Linked DNA regions of Homo sapiens: region 2 is linked to region 1. Evidence: promoter capture Hi-C in human tissues and cell types (Jung and others, 2019). All regions are on one chromosome and are shown on one strand. The core of a region is centred on a gene start or on the middle of the fragment in contact, and the rest is flanking DNA. Distances in the headings are between cores, read along the strand shown.

Region 1 (6,787 bases), core at 3,689-6,188:
GACAATTACTATTTTTCTCATATTTCTCAAGTGTCCAAGAGTTTTCCAGCTACTACATCCCTTTTCACCATAACCCATCCCAGTTAAACACAGGTGAAAGACTGAGCTTTCACCTGCTGTAGCACTGTTACAGGAGGTCGGGAACTATCAATATTCTTTCTACTGCTAGCGTTGGTGTCCTCATCATCCTCTAGGTGGTGAGTGAGCTCACTCCAGAATCCCTTGGAGACTGCTTTCTAGGATGACTTCTGGTGCCAAATGTTTTTTAGTTTGAGTTCCCTAGAAGTGAACCAAAATGAGGATGCTAGTTCAAGTCATTAATTGGGGAAGTATTCTCAGGAGAAGCAGAGTTAGGAAGCAAGATAGGGTAGGGGGAAAAAGCTAAGCACGAACTTGGTCTTGGCTGGAGACCAGCTTTAGACTGATTCCACAGGGAGACTCGGGAGGACAAACTGTATCCCACTTAAATTCAGGGAACTGATTTTTTATTCCTGTGCCAGTCAATCAGTCAATCACTGGCAAGGAGTGGGTACTGGCAAACAGCCTCCTATGCAAGGCGGACTCCTATTTGGCTGAGGAAAATTCTCTGAAGAAAAGGGTAGTTGTGAGTTGTTATCAACCAACATTTATAACAGCTGGGAAATGGGTGCCCAGGTAGGTAAACGGAGTATGGGCAGGGCATCAACAGTATGCAGTACAGTAACTGTCCTGAATGTTTAGGGATGTGCCTCTGATCTCCAGTCTACACTTGTCCCAATCCTATTGTCTAAGCTCACAGGGTCTTTTGAGGGTGAGCTACACTGATGCTTTTATCTCAAGCTTGGGCTTGGGAGTCTTGGCAAGGTTGGTAGCTTCCACATTATGGCCATGTTCCCCAATACTGCAGTCATTCTTCATCACGGTTCTGCCAAACTCTCGCAGAATATGGTTCCTTATACTCATGGAACCAAACAGACCTGCGTCTTTGTCCCATCTCAAGGGAAACACAAAGCAAACCTCTCTTCTGAATGCCTCTTTTATAAATAAGAAAATTGAGGCTCGGGAAGGCTAAACGAATTTTGCAACAAGGCTGAAAAAGGTAAAGCTGGGACCACACTTGGGTGTTGACTTACAGGCCTTCCACTATATCAGGGAGGCAGACTATAGTCCATGAGCCAAGCCCACCTTCCCCCTTCCCCTACCTGTTTTTTAAGCAAAGTTTTATTGGAACACAGCCATGCTCTCTTGTTTATGTATTGTCTATGGCTGCTTTCTCACTGTAATGGCAGTTGTTAGTTGTTAGTAGTTGTTACAGAGAAAGTATGACCTGCAAAGCCAAAAATATTTACTATCTGTAAATATTTTGGCTACATTATGCTACTTCTGTGAACCTCCACAGACTTCTAATTCTAAGACTCAGTTATTCTAAGACTTTAGTTGGAGGAGAGTGACACAGCACAAGCTAGGTCTTGAAAACCTACTTTCTTCTATACTAACAAGAAATGAGGGCAGCTCTAGTGCTACTTAGCTAAAGCAGATTTCAAAAAGTCCTAGGGAGAGCTGGGTGTGGTGTCATGTGACTGTAGTGCAGCTACTTGGGAGGCTGAGGCAGGAGGATCACTTGAACCCAGGATTTTGTCTCAAAAAAATAAAAATAAAAATAAAAAAGCCTGGAAAGAAAGAAGGATGAATCAGCTTAAAAGATAGTCCTTAAAAATAATAATAAAAATACTGTGGATCTTCCAATTCAGAAATCTGCAGCGTTTGTGAATGAATGAATATTGGTATGTACAAAGGAAAAGTCTGGAAGGATACAGACATTCAGTGGGTGGTTACCTTTGGCGGAAGGAAAGGTATTTAACTCTTTGTTTCTTCTATATTGTTTGTGTATGTGTGTATATATAGTATAACTATGTACTTTTTGCAATTAAAAAAACACACAAACACACACAATGAGGATGAGAGAGAGAGAGAGAGAGACCTCCCCCCTCCAAGTGGTATTTAAGAAAACAATCTTTCTAGAGTGATGGATGCAGCTGTGTTCATAGTGGATGGTTGACTTAATGACCTCACTTGCCCCTGGCATCCATCCCATGATTGATAGGCTGCCTCAAACTCCTCAGGCTCTGTGTTCCTTTATGTGCAGGGAGCTGGAAGAAACATTCAGAATAAAGTATTACAATTTCTGCAGAGACAAACGAATTGCATAGTTGTGTTTGGAGATACAACTGCAACTCGTTTCCCATTTCTCAATAAGCTAGTATGAAGACTCAGTTGTGGATGTCAGAAACCCAATCAAGAAATATTTCACCTTTTTTTCAGAATTGCTTCAAGATATAAAGGGATGGCTGTTTTTTTTTCTATTAGAAAAAATACAAATAGTACATGAGCACTGTAAAACATTCAAACAATACCCATGTGTATAAAATAAAAAGTGAAAGTTCTCCCTTCAAATTACACTCACCAGGGTAATAAATGCAAATAATTTGACACTAGAATACCTGTAAACAGGTATTTACAGGTATTCCATTCATATTCAAATATTCATAGTTAAACAAAATGGCATCAGGCTACATATAAAAAAGCATTTTTACTTTCACTTAATGTATCTTGGGCCATGGAATATATAGGTATATTTAGATTCATCTCATTCTTTTTATGGGTGCACAATATTCCACTATGACTGTACTACATTTTTTTTTTTTTTGAGACAGAGTTTTGCCCTTGTTGCCCAGGCTGGAGTGCAGTGGCACGATCTCAGCTCACTGTAACCTCTGTCTCCCAGGTTCAAGCGATTCTCCTGCCTCAACCTCTTGAAGTGGCTGGGATTACAGGCGCCTGCCACCTCGCCCGGCTAATTTTTTGTATTTAGTAGAGACCGGGTTTCACCATGTTGGTCAGGCTGGTCTCGAACTCCTCACCTCACGTGATCCACCTACCTTGGCCTTCCAAAGTGATGGGATTACAGGCATGAGCCACCACACCCGGCCCAACAATGTCTCCACTTTTAGACACGTAAGTTGGTCCTCTTTTGTGTTGTAGTGCTGCAACACTAAATATCTCTCTCTCTTTTTTTTTTTTTTTTGAGAGAGAGTCTTGCTCTGTTGCCCAGGCTGGAGTGTAATGGTGTGATCTTGGCTCACTGCAACCTCTGCCTCCCGGGTTCAAGCGATTCTCTTGCCTTGGCCTCCCCAGTAGCTGGGATTACAGGTGCCGCACCACCACGCCCAGCTAATTTTGGTATTTTTAGTAGAGACGGGGTTTCATCATGTTGGCCAGGCTGGTCTCGAACTCCTGAACTCGTGATCCGCTCGTCTTGGCCTCCCAAAGTGCTAGGATTACTGGCGTGAGCCACTGCCCCTGGCAACACTGAGTATCTCGGTACACAAATATTTGGACTGTGTGTCCAAACATTTCTTTTGGACATATTCAAAAGGTTATGCATATTTAACAGATATTAAAATTGTTCTCTATAAAAAGGTTGTACAACTTAGAACCTTACCCCCAATTTATACTTTCTCATTGTTTCTTATTTCCCATTTTCCTAATTACCATCAAGGTTGAGGATCTTTTCATGTTTATTGGCCATTCGTGTTGCTTCTTTTGTGAATTGTTTTTCTTAGTCTTTGGTCTTTTTTTATTTTTTATTTTTTTTTTTGAGATGGAGTCTCTCTGTTGCACAGGCTGGAGTGGAGGGGCGCTATCTCGGCTCACTGCAATCTCCGCCTCCTAGGTTCAAGCAATTCTCCTGCTTCAGCCTCCGGAGTAGTACAGGCGCCTGCCACCACGCCCAACTAATTTTTTGTATTTTTAGTAGGGACGGGGTTTCACCATATTGGCCAGGCTGTTCTCGAACTCCCGACCTCTTGATCCGCCCCCGTGCCCTGCCGGGTCTTTTAAAAATGGTATTGTCTCACCCGGCTCCCCTCCCATTGGTTTGTAGGAATATCTTTTAAGTTATAGATATTAACTTTTTCCTTTCTTCTGTCTATAAGGTCCAAAATAGTAACTATTTCTACAATTGAAACATTCCCAATTTACATTTACTGTTGAGCATGATAATGACTTTCACCACATAGAGACGTGTAATTTTAGGTAGTCAAATCTGTCAAGTCTTTTCTCATATTGCTTCTGGGTTCCCTGTCAAGCTTAGAAACACATCTCTTCCAAAAATTACAGAAATATTTTTCTACTTTTTCTTCCATGTTTGTATCTCTCTCCCTCTCTTTTTTTTTTTTTTTTTTTTTTTTTTTTTTTTTTTTTTTTTTTTGAGACGGAGTTTCGCTTTTGTTGCCCAGGCTGGAGTGCTCACCGCAACCTCCGCCTCCAGGGATCAAGCGATTCTCTGTCTCAGCCTCCAGAGTAGCTGGGATTACAGGCATGCGCCACCACGCCCAGCTAATTTTGTATTTTTAGTAGAGACGGGGTTTCTCCATATTGGTCAGGCTGGTCTCGAACTCCCAAGCTCAGGTGATCCGCCTGCCTTGGCCTCCCAAAGTGCTGGGATTACAGGCGTGAGCCACTGCGCCCGGCCATGCTTATATCTTTAATCCAACCATATACTATTTTTGTGAAGGATGGAAGTAAGGCTCCCCTCAAGTTAATTTTTCTCCAATCTGGCTTGCAGGAAAGGGGTTTCTGGGGAGATTTTACCGAGCAACGTAGGGAAACGGCTGCCTGGCTACCTACCCCTTTTTGACACCCACACGTGCTCGGCACCTTACATACACTGCGTGATTTTATCCTAAAGCCACTTTTAAAATCTTAGTGTGTAAACAGAGAAACTGGGCGTCACATAAGGCAAGTGACCTGCACAGCCTGCTCCGGAGGAGACCCGTACGATCCCAGAGACAAGCACTGAACATAAGGCACCCGGCGCCGCGCCCGCTTTGCAACCTCTCGCGACAGTTGTACGTCATCCGAGAGCGCCGTGGAAGTCGTGCTGCAGGCGTCGCGCCAATCTTCGCTCTGAGGTGCTGTCTCACCGGTGAGACCTGGAAGCGGGCGAGTCTCGTGCTGTGTCGGACCTGCAGCCCCTGGCCTTCCGCCACCATGGAGTACCTCATCGGTATCCAAGGCCCCGACTATGTTCTTGTCGCCTCCGACCGGGTGGCCGCCAGCAATATTGTCCAGATGAAGGACGGTGAGAGGAAGCAGGGGAGGCCCGGCCAGGCCTGGGGTGTAGGAGCGGCCAGAAGGAGTTTGTCGGGGGTTGAATAAGTACCAGGGAGGATCTGAGAGATGGAAGCCGGCCTGCCCTGCCCGTACTTATTTTATTTATTTATTTATTTTTTCGAGAGGGGTTTCGCTCTTGTTGTCCAGGCCGGAGTGCAATGGCGCGATCTCGGCTTAGCACAGTCTTTGTCTCCCGGGTTCAAGCGATTCTCGTGCCTCAGCCTCCCGAGTAGCTGGGAACAGATATGCGCCACCACGCCTGGCTAATTTTTGTATTATTAGTAGAGATGTGGATTTCTCCATATTGGTCAGGCTGGTCTCGAACTCCCGACCTCAGGAGATCCGCCCGTCTCGGCCTTCCAAAGTGCTGGGATTACAGGCGAAACAGGCAGACAGGTCTGGGACCTTGGCATTTGCTCCTCCAGGGCTCCTGGGTCAGTGCTCTGCTCTGGCCTTCGCTAAATGCTTCTTGCTTGGTGAGAGTTGCCTAAAGGGAATCAGTTTATAAATGTTTAAGCGCCTGCCCAGAGCCTGGCTCTCTAGATCCCCGAATCTCTGATAAGTTTCCTGGTGTCGCTAGTAATGAGGTTAGTTTGTTGGCGGCATAAGGTGGGATCCTGAGGAGAGTGAGACTGTGGGACTGGCTCTCTAGATCCCCGAATCTCTGATAAGTTTCCTGGTGTCGCTAGTAATGAGGTTAGTTTGTTGGCGGCATAAGGTGGGATCCTGGGGAGAGTGAGACTGTGGGACCAGAAGCTTGGCATTTTCCTTCTTCCCGTGGCTCCCGATTCTTCTTTTCCAGTTTTCCAGAGCAATGGCTGCCAGGTTTTCCTTATATTTAAGTAGTTAATGGAGTTAAGAGATTGGAGCCCTGTCATTTATTTGCCTTATGAGTTTGTATAAGTTATTTTGCAGTGCCCAGATTTCCTCATCTTTAAGATTAGCAATACCAAACTCACAAACTTGTCGGGAGGATTTAGTAAATGAGTTATGTGCAAATCCTTAGCACTAGGCAGGTACTTAATAATACTAAGTGTACGTAGGTGCCCAAACATATTTGTCAAATGACCATTAAGTCATCTGAACCAAAGCTTAATACTTTTTCAACAGTAGCACGTCTTTGATCAGTTAAGGAAAACAAACTTAGATTCTGCAGAAAAACAACCAAAATCTTCTTAAAATTATGTATTGAGTAATTTAGTATAGATAGTATAGTATAGTATAGTATAGTATAGTATAGTATAGTATATTATAGTACTTAGGGGCAAAATGTCTGGACTCACTGCATAGGTTGAACCCAGGTTCTGCCACTTGTGACCTTAAGCAAATTTCTCTAACTCCGTGCCCTAGAGCTAACATCTATAAGGTGGTAATGTAATAGCACCTATCTCAAAAGGTTAATGAATTAATGTAAATCACTTAACATAGCACCTTATACTTTATGAAATTCTATGATTAGTTTGTAGAAGTTTTGTTTGTAAGCCAGTCCTTCCAAAGGAGTGAATTTGTTTTGAGAGTAAATTTGTCCATTATTTTGAATACTAAGGTCTTTGACAAGCAAGTGATTTTAACATTAAGTCATGTCTAGGTAGAACAATAATCATTATCTTTACAGGTCTTTTGTTTCATCCCA
Region 2 (6,446 bases), core at 2,401-4,900, 240 kb before region 1:
ATTTCTTAACTCAATGTAGTTAGATTAACTAGCTCAACTACTTTCTGCTGAAATTGCTCTGGCAAAAGCCACTAATAATCTTCCAATAGCGAAGTCCAATTGGACTATTTTTCAGCATTTACCCGACGTGGCATCTCCCGTTCAAAAACTTCCTTAGATTTGGTGATACTACCCTCTACTGGTTTTTCTTTTACCTTTCTGGCCCCTCTTTCAAGGTTGGTGTCTTTCAGATTTGGTGGCTTAGGTGTGCATCACTTACCGGTTGACTCTACGGGGACACTTATCCGGCTTGATGTCCACCTCGTAGTGGTACACGTCGATCTTAGGGATGTCCACCTCAAAGTAATTGGCCAGGAGCTTGATTGGTTTCCCCACAGTGCCAATGCCAGGCCGGCGAGGTGCCTGGAACACCTGCTGCAGGGGGGGCAGGTAAGCGCCCGCAGCTACAAGACAAAGAGGCTGGTGAGGGTAAAGTCTGGCAATCTCCTAACTACTCTTATCAGAGGAGGAACAAGGCCTCCCAGAACAGGAACACGAGAGTATAGAGAATGCCTCTTTCCTGCTACCCAACCCAGCCAAGGGCTTCCAGGGGACATCTCAAGCTCATCTGTGTTTTTTCTCTTTTTTCTTTTTTAATCTCTCTCCAGTTAGGAAAATTATCCTTATTGTCTATTTTTAATTCATTAAGTTAATATATAATAAGTTCCTATTGCATGTTAAGCAGAGAGACTAAATCTGGCTCCTAGTAACAAAACCCTTTCTTTCTTCTAGTAGAGTAAGACACTTGCCTCCACCAGGTATCTAGCAGACCAAGAATTTCTATTCTCTGCCAGCCAGATGCTCACTCCATTCGCCACCATGCTGAATACAAAATGGCATAACCTTGATGTTCCTTTATAGGTGGGCAGGAATAAGATCCAGACAAGGCCAGGCTGGAGAGGGCAGGGTCAGTGTTTGAGGCAGAATTAAGGCAACTGAATGGCGAGAGTTGGAGACAGGGAAAAGGAGAAAAGGCTCAAAGGACAGAGTTTGGAGACTAAGGAAAAGAGAAAGGGGGTTGGAGAAGAGGACAGAGCTGGAGGTCACAAAAGAAAAAGGCCAGGAGAAAGAGAAGGCTGGAGTCAAGGGGTGGGGCAAAAGAGGTTAGGGTTGGAAGCTCAGGCAGGAAGAAACAAAGCAGCAACTGGGGAGACAATGATAAAAAAAAAAGCTTGAATAAAGAAAGAACTAACGGGTTTGGGAAGAAGAGGTGGCAATTAGAATGCTGGAGAAGAGACACTGGCTCTGGGAAGAACACAAGATTCTCTCCATGCCCCACAGATCCTTCCACACAGAAGGTCCAGACAGCAGCAGAAGAGATCAATTTCAAGACAGAGGAGGCCCTTGGGAAAGGGATAGGGTAAGGCCAGATCCAGCTACTTTACCCTCTTTTGCCAGTCTGGCTGCTGTCTCCAGTCTTATTTTCTAGCTTGGGGGGAAGAGAGAAAAAAAGGGAATAATATGCTGCTATTGTTCTTGGCAGTAGAGAACTAGCCCAGGTGGGAGAAGAGAGGGATAAACCAGCCCAGAACCTCCCATTATCAGACTTCTGCTTTCACAGTCAGACAAGCTGGGGGGATGGGGCATACCCTCAGCTGGGGGTCAGGAAGAGGTCAGAACCATTCATGGGAGGGGCAGCTTCCCAGAGCTAAGCTGCTCTGTTTCCCTCTAACCACCTGTCCAAGCCCAGTCCCACTCTGCAGACAGGGAAATGAAGGCCCAGCCTGGATGGAAAAGGTCTTCAGAACTCAGCTACATGGGGAAGGGAAAACCTATCTACTAGCACCTGGCTGCCTACCTCAGAAAGTGCTGGACAGAAATTGCACACAAGCTCACGGACAGACAGACACACATCCCCATCACACACATCCAAACACACACTTAGACCTTGGCAATTTACACTTACACACATATCCTTCACTGCCCTAGACTGAGTTCTTCAAAGGCAGGGACTATATCTGCCTTGGTCACTGTTTAATTTCCAGTGTCTGACACACACACAGGAAGTATTCAACATACTGATATGAAATGAATGAACAAACATATCCATAGACACACCACAAAAACACACAAGCACACACAGCACACAGACACACGAACACCTGCAATTGCCCAGAAACAATTATAAACACTACACAAGACAAATATGCACGTTTGTGGGTGTAGCCAGTAAGAGACATCCTTTCCCTCCCCAAGTTCTTATATTTCATTCACCTTCTTCCCCTCCCAGACTGAATAATCATTTGGGGCCTTCGGAGAAAGATAACTCCTAGAGCTGGGGGGCTAGTTAGAAATGATGGGGGATGGGACAGACACTCTAGCCTCAAAGCCTTCTCTTCCCCAGAAACCCGACTACATACCACACATAGCCTTAGAGCACCTTCCTCTCCAAAGAGGCTTTGGGAAAACAGGGGAGCCCACACCCCCACTTCATCTCCAAACTAGGAAAGACAGCAGGAAGCAGGAACCTCTCTCCCATTACATCCCCCTGAAAGCCTAACAACAGCACTGTCTCCTCCCCGCCCCCCTTACCCCAGCTTTTAGTCTGAGAAAGGGAGACACTTCCCTACAGACCCAGACAGGGACAGACGGCCACTTTGTGATGCAGATGAGGGCCCCAGCACAGAGGACAAAGCTTGGGCCTAGGGGGAAAGGGGCGGGACCCTTCTCTTCAGACAAAAGCAAGGAGGGAGGGGCCCTGAAAAGGACACTCCCCCTCCCCCATCCCCAAGGAGCCCAGAGAAGGAAAAGTAACAGAGCTGAAAACCCTGGCTCAGGATTCCTTTCTTGCAGTTCTGAGGCCCACACACCTCCCAAGGAGCCAGACTGCCTATTCAAAAGACACAAATTCAAGGTTAGGTTAGGTTAGGTTAGCTGGTGGGCAAGCAAAGACTAACAAGCCAATCTCTCCAAAAAGGATCTGTTCCATGTGAGTATACACTTTATTAAATATCCACATACGTGCTTAACCATTTATGTTCACACTTGAATGTGATTTGATTTAATTAATAAACATGTATTCTGTGCCAGGGCCTATACACTAGGCACTTGCTAGTTCTACAAATAAACCAGACACTGCTTCTACCCTCAGGGAGCACCCAGTCCACTGTATGTGCTTGGAACACACCTGAGCACAGAAGGCAGACCTGGGCATAAGCCCAGTGAGGCTAGCAACAATGCTTTAGTTTTTGGGGGGTTTTTTGTTGTTGTTTTTTACACAACGCTTTAGTTTTGTGTATTATGTCCTCAGGCCACCTTGGGACACCACTCTAACTTCTTATAAGAGAACAGTCCGGGCCTAGGAAGGAGGCAGTTATGGGGTCCCTCAATTTGCAGCTTCCAGACTGAATCTCAATTATACCCTTTACTGAGGCAAAGCCTGTCCTATTCGGCTTTTCCCAAGGCTTTGGCTGACTCCAAACAGCAGGTTCTAGCTCCTTTCCTATAAGCTTATTTTTTGTAACAAATTTTTAAAAAGTCAATTTTTCATCACTCCAGAGCCTATTAGGAATTCATCAGGATAAAAATCATTAGTCTAGAATGGGTACCAGCAACCAGCAATCCATGTGGACCTCAATGACCTACCCCACTACTCTAGTTCATGGGTTGTTGGAAATAGTCCCCAGCCTTGAAAAACAGAAGTTCCTGGGATGGAGAGAGGGTCCTGACAGAGAGGAAGTACTCAAGTCAGTTGCTCCCTGTGCTTATCCTTACGACTACACAGTCTATACAAGGCTGGTTGTTAAGAGGGAAAACAGTCACTAAGTACTTAGAGATCACTAAATGGATAACTTGAGTGAGGTCGTAGGAGCTATTTCCTTGGGAGGGTGGGAGGGAGTTAGGTCTGCTACAAAAAAAACAAAATAATTCCACTAGGAAAGTAATGAAGTTCATGGCCTAAATGGAAATTTGATTCCCATCCCCAGACCAAATGTAAGGAAGTGGTGAGAGATGACCTGAAGGATTCCCAGGTCCAGGCTCCTCGTCCCATCACAGGGTAAGACACTTAAGACACAAGAGGTATCACCACCCCACAGCCCATCCTAAGGACTCCAGTTTTCTTGAGGCAATCCTGCCTCAGTTTATCCTCTGTTCCTATGTCTTTTCCTCCTCATTGCCTGCAAATAAGAAGTTAAGGCTATCACCTAGGCCTCACCAGGATGAAGGCTATAAACTCCCCCATCCTCCAACGTGTTTGTAGGGTTTAGATCTTGGCTCTAAAGACAGCCCTGACAGTTTCTGGGGAGTGGGGAGAGGAAAACGGAAAGATATCCAGTGGAAGATAGGAGCCATGAAAATATTAAGAAATATTAGAATAAATGTTATAAATGTAGAGTGTAACCTTAACAGACAATTCAATGGAAAATCTTTGGATTAAAAGCCCCCATCACTACTCAGTATTGGAGCAGAAACTTGCAAACCAAGCAGACAACTCCTTCCAGGTAGCCCCTGCCCTGTCCTTGATTCCTCCGTAACCAATACCTTTCCTAAGGCCTATCTTCAGGAGGACCCACCCCCAGAACCCATCGCTTCGGTCCCAGTCTTTCCTGTGGCAGAAAAATGCACTTTGGCAGCTTCCCTCAACCCATTCTTAGCAAACTGTGACTGAGGGCCAAGTGTAAGAGCCCCTAAAATGGGGGAGGGGACCATAACCATTTGCACACTGCCAGCATAACCTAAGAGAGAATGCACCCCATCAGCGCGCTCCTTTTTCCAAGCCAAACGGGGCGGGGCGGGGGGGTGTGGAGAGGTGGGGGTATTCGGACAGCCACGCCCCCACCACGTCGGGCAGCCCCTTCCAGCTGCCACCTCCGCGCATGCTCTGGAGCCTCCGCTCCGACTCCCCAGACCCACGGGGGGTAATCCCGGGACTGGGTCCCCACCCACCGCCCCCTGACCCTCGCCCTCGCGTCAGGCCCAGTGGGGCGGAGCTCACAGTCCAGCTCTGGCGCCTTCTCCCAAGAGACATTAGCCTATTCCAGCCCAGCGGAGCCCCCGCCCCCGGCATGCGGTAGCTCCAGGCCCATCTGTGTCGCCCCCTCCTCTCCTGGACACCTGGAGCCCGTCCCCTGCCACCTGCCGGGCCTCTCCGTAGGCCTCCACGGATGTCTGGGAGTCCTTCCGTGCGTGCAGGCCCTTCTCCCAGATTACTTCCAACCCGCAGGACTGTATACAGCCTCCTTGGACAAACAGCCCCCATCTCAGGGCTCTCTTCACATGGTTCTCCCCCGGAACTGCACACAGCCTCCTTCAAACTGGGCCCCCATCGTGGGAGAGCCCTTCTCCTCACTCAGGAGCGCTTCCATCACTTGGAAACCACGCTTTTCATGCGGGATCCCCCAGTCCTTGGAGCATGCACCGTTCCCCCTCCTGGGGACCCTTACCTGCTCCCGAGGGTCCCGCTTCCATCCCATATACCCGTGCGGAGGTCAGGCGGCCCGGAGACTGTGAAGTCCAGCGTGAGGGGCCTAGGTACCCCACACTCTCGCTGCTCGGGATCCCGGGCCGGGCTCGGCTCCCCTACCAAGCCCGGCCGCTCGCGCCGCCGCCCCCGCAGCCTCCGTTGCCGCCGCCGCGGAGCCTGCAGCAGCTCCCACTGCGAGCGCCCGGCCAGCTGCCAGTGCGCAGGCGCGACCGCCGGGCCCAGGGGGCGGACCGGAACGAGTCAAGCGGGGCGCTCCGACGGCAACAAAGGCCAATGGAGAGGGGCGGGGGCACCGGGGACCCAAGGCAGCGGCCCCTGGCGGTCACCCGTCGCCATGCAGCCCGGCGGGAGGGCGCCAGTAGAGGTGCCTTGGAACCGCGCAGTGGTATAAGTGGGGCAGGGCGAAGGGACATCCCGCCACAGCAGCCTTCAGCCCTGTGTCTTTTCCCCAAATAGGTCCCTCCAAACCTACACACAGCCCCCGCCTGTCGCACCGAGCTGCGCGCACACATTATGGGAACCCCACTTCATTCCCAGACCCCCTGGCACTCCAGCGCCCAGGGGCCCTGCCTCCCACCTCTCCTCCCAATCACCCTCATCCTTCAAGCCTTGGCTGCAAAGCGACTGCCTCCACGAAGTCTTTCTCCGTCCCTAGTCACTGAACTCACTGACGCCACCCCCTCTTCCACGCCATGTGCTGGACGCTGAGACCACAGATAAGTAGAGACGCGGCCTACCCTGGAAGATGTCACAGTTTGAACTTAAGTGCAGCTACAGAGCTCTATCCGCCGGACCTGGGAAGCACCTGCCTCCACTTTCTCATCTACAGTTCATGCCTGAACTGTCAATCAGCTTCTGCCCTCATCACGTCACTTAAATGACTTTTGGGGTTGACATCCAAAGGATACTTTTCAATTATTTCTCTGCAGCATCTGTCACTGTGCCTCTACTTCCCTTCTGAGCCTTCTACTTGGCTGCGGCA

What was found. The method cuts DNA at HindIII sites, captures the fragments that hold promoters and counts their contacts. A contact is called where the count stands out against the background at its distance.
Region 2: a contact is called between a fragment that was not itself captured here and the fragment with the promoter of PSMB2 in region 1, in 1 of the 25 tissues and cell types used here (hippocampus).

What each region holds. Positions count from the first base shown.
Region 1 is chr1:35,639,677-35,646,463 of GRCh38, reverse strand. PSMB2 (proteasome 20S subunit beta 2) reads left to right here and starts at 4,938. Exons shown (of 6, transcript NM_002794.5): 1 at 4,938-5,122. The coding sequence starts at 5,032. RefSeq lists enhancers at 4,033-4,997, 4,750-5,209, 4,998-5,963. The HindIII fragment of the contact is 3,605 bases long and covers 2,474-6,078 here.
Region 2 is chr1:35,882,424-35,888,869 of GRCh38, reverse strand. AGO1 (argonaute RISC component 1) reads right to left here and starts at 5,661. Exons shown (of 19, transcript NM_012199.5): 1 at 5,424-5,661; 2 at 260-443. The coding sequence starts at 5,448. RefSeq lists enhancers at 1,752-1,811, 2,449-3,088 and a silencer at 5,439-5,898. The HindIII fragment of the contact is 3,416 bases long and covers 1,943-5,358 here.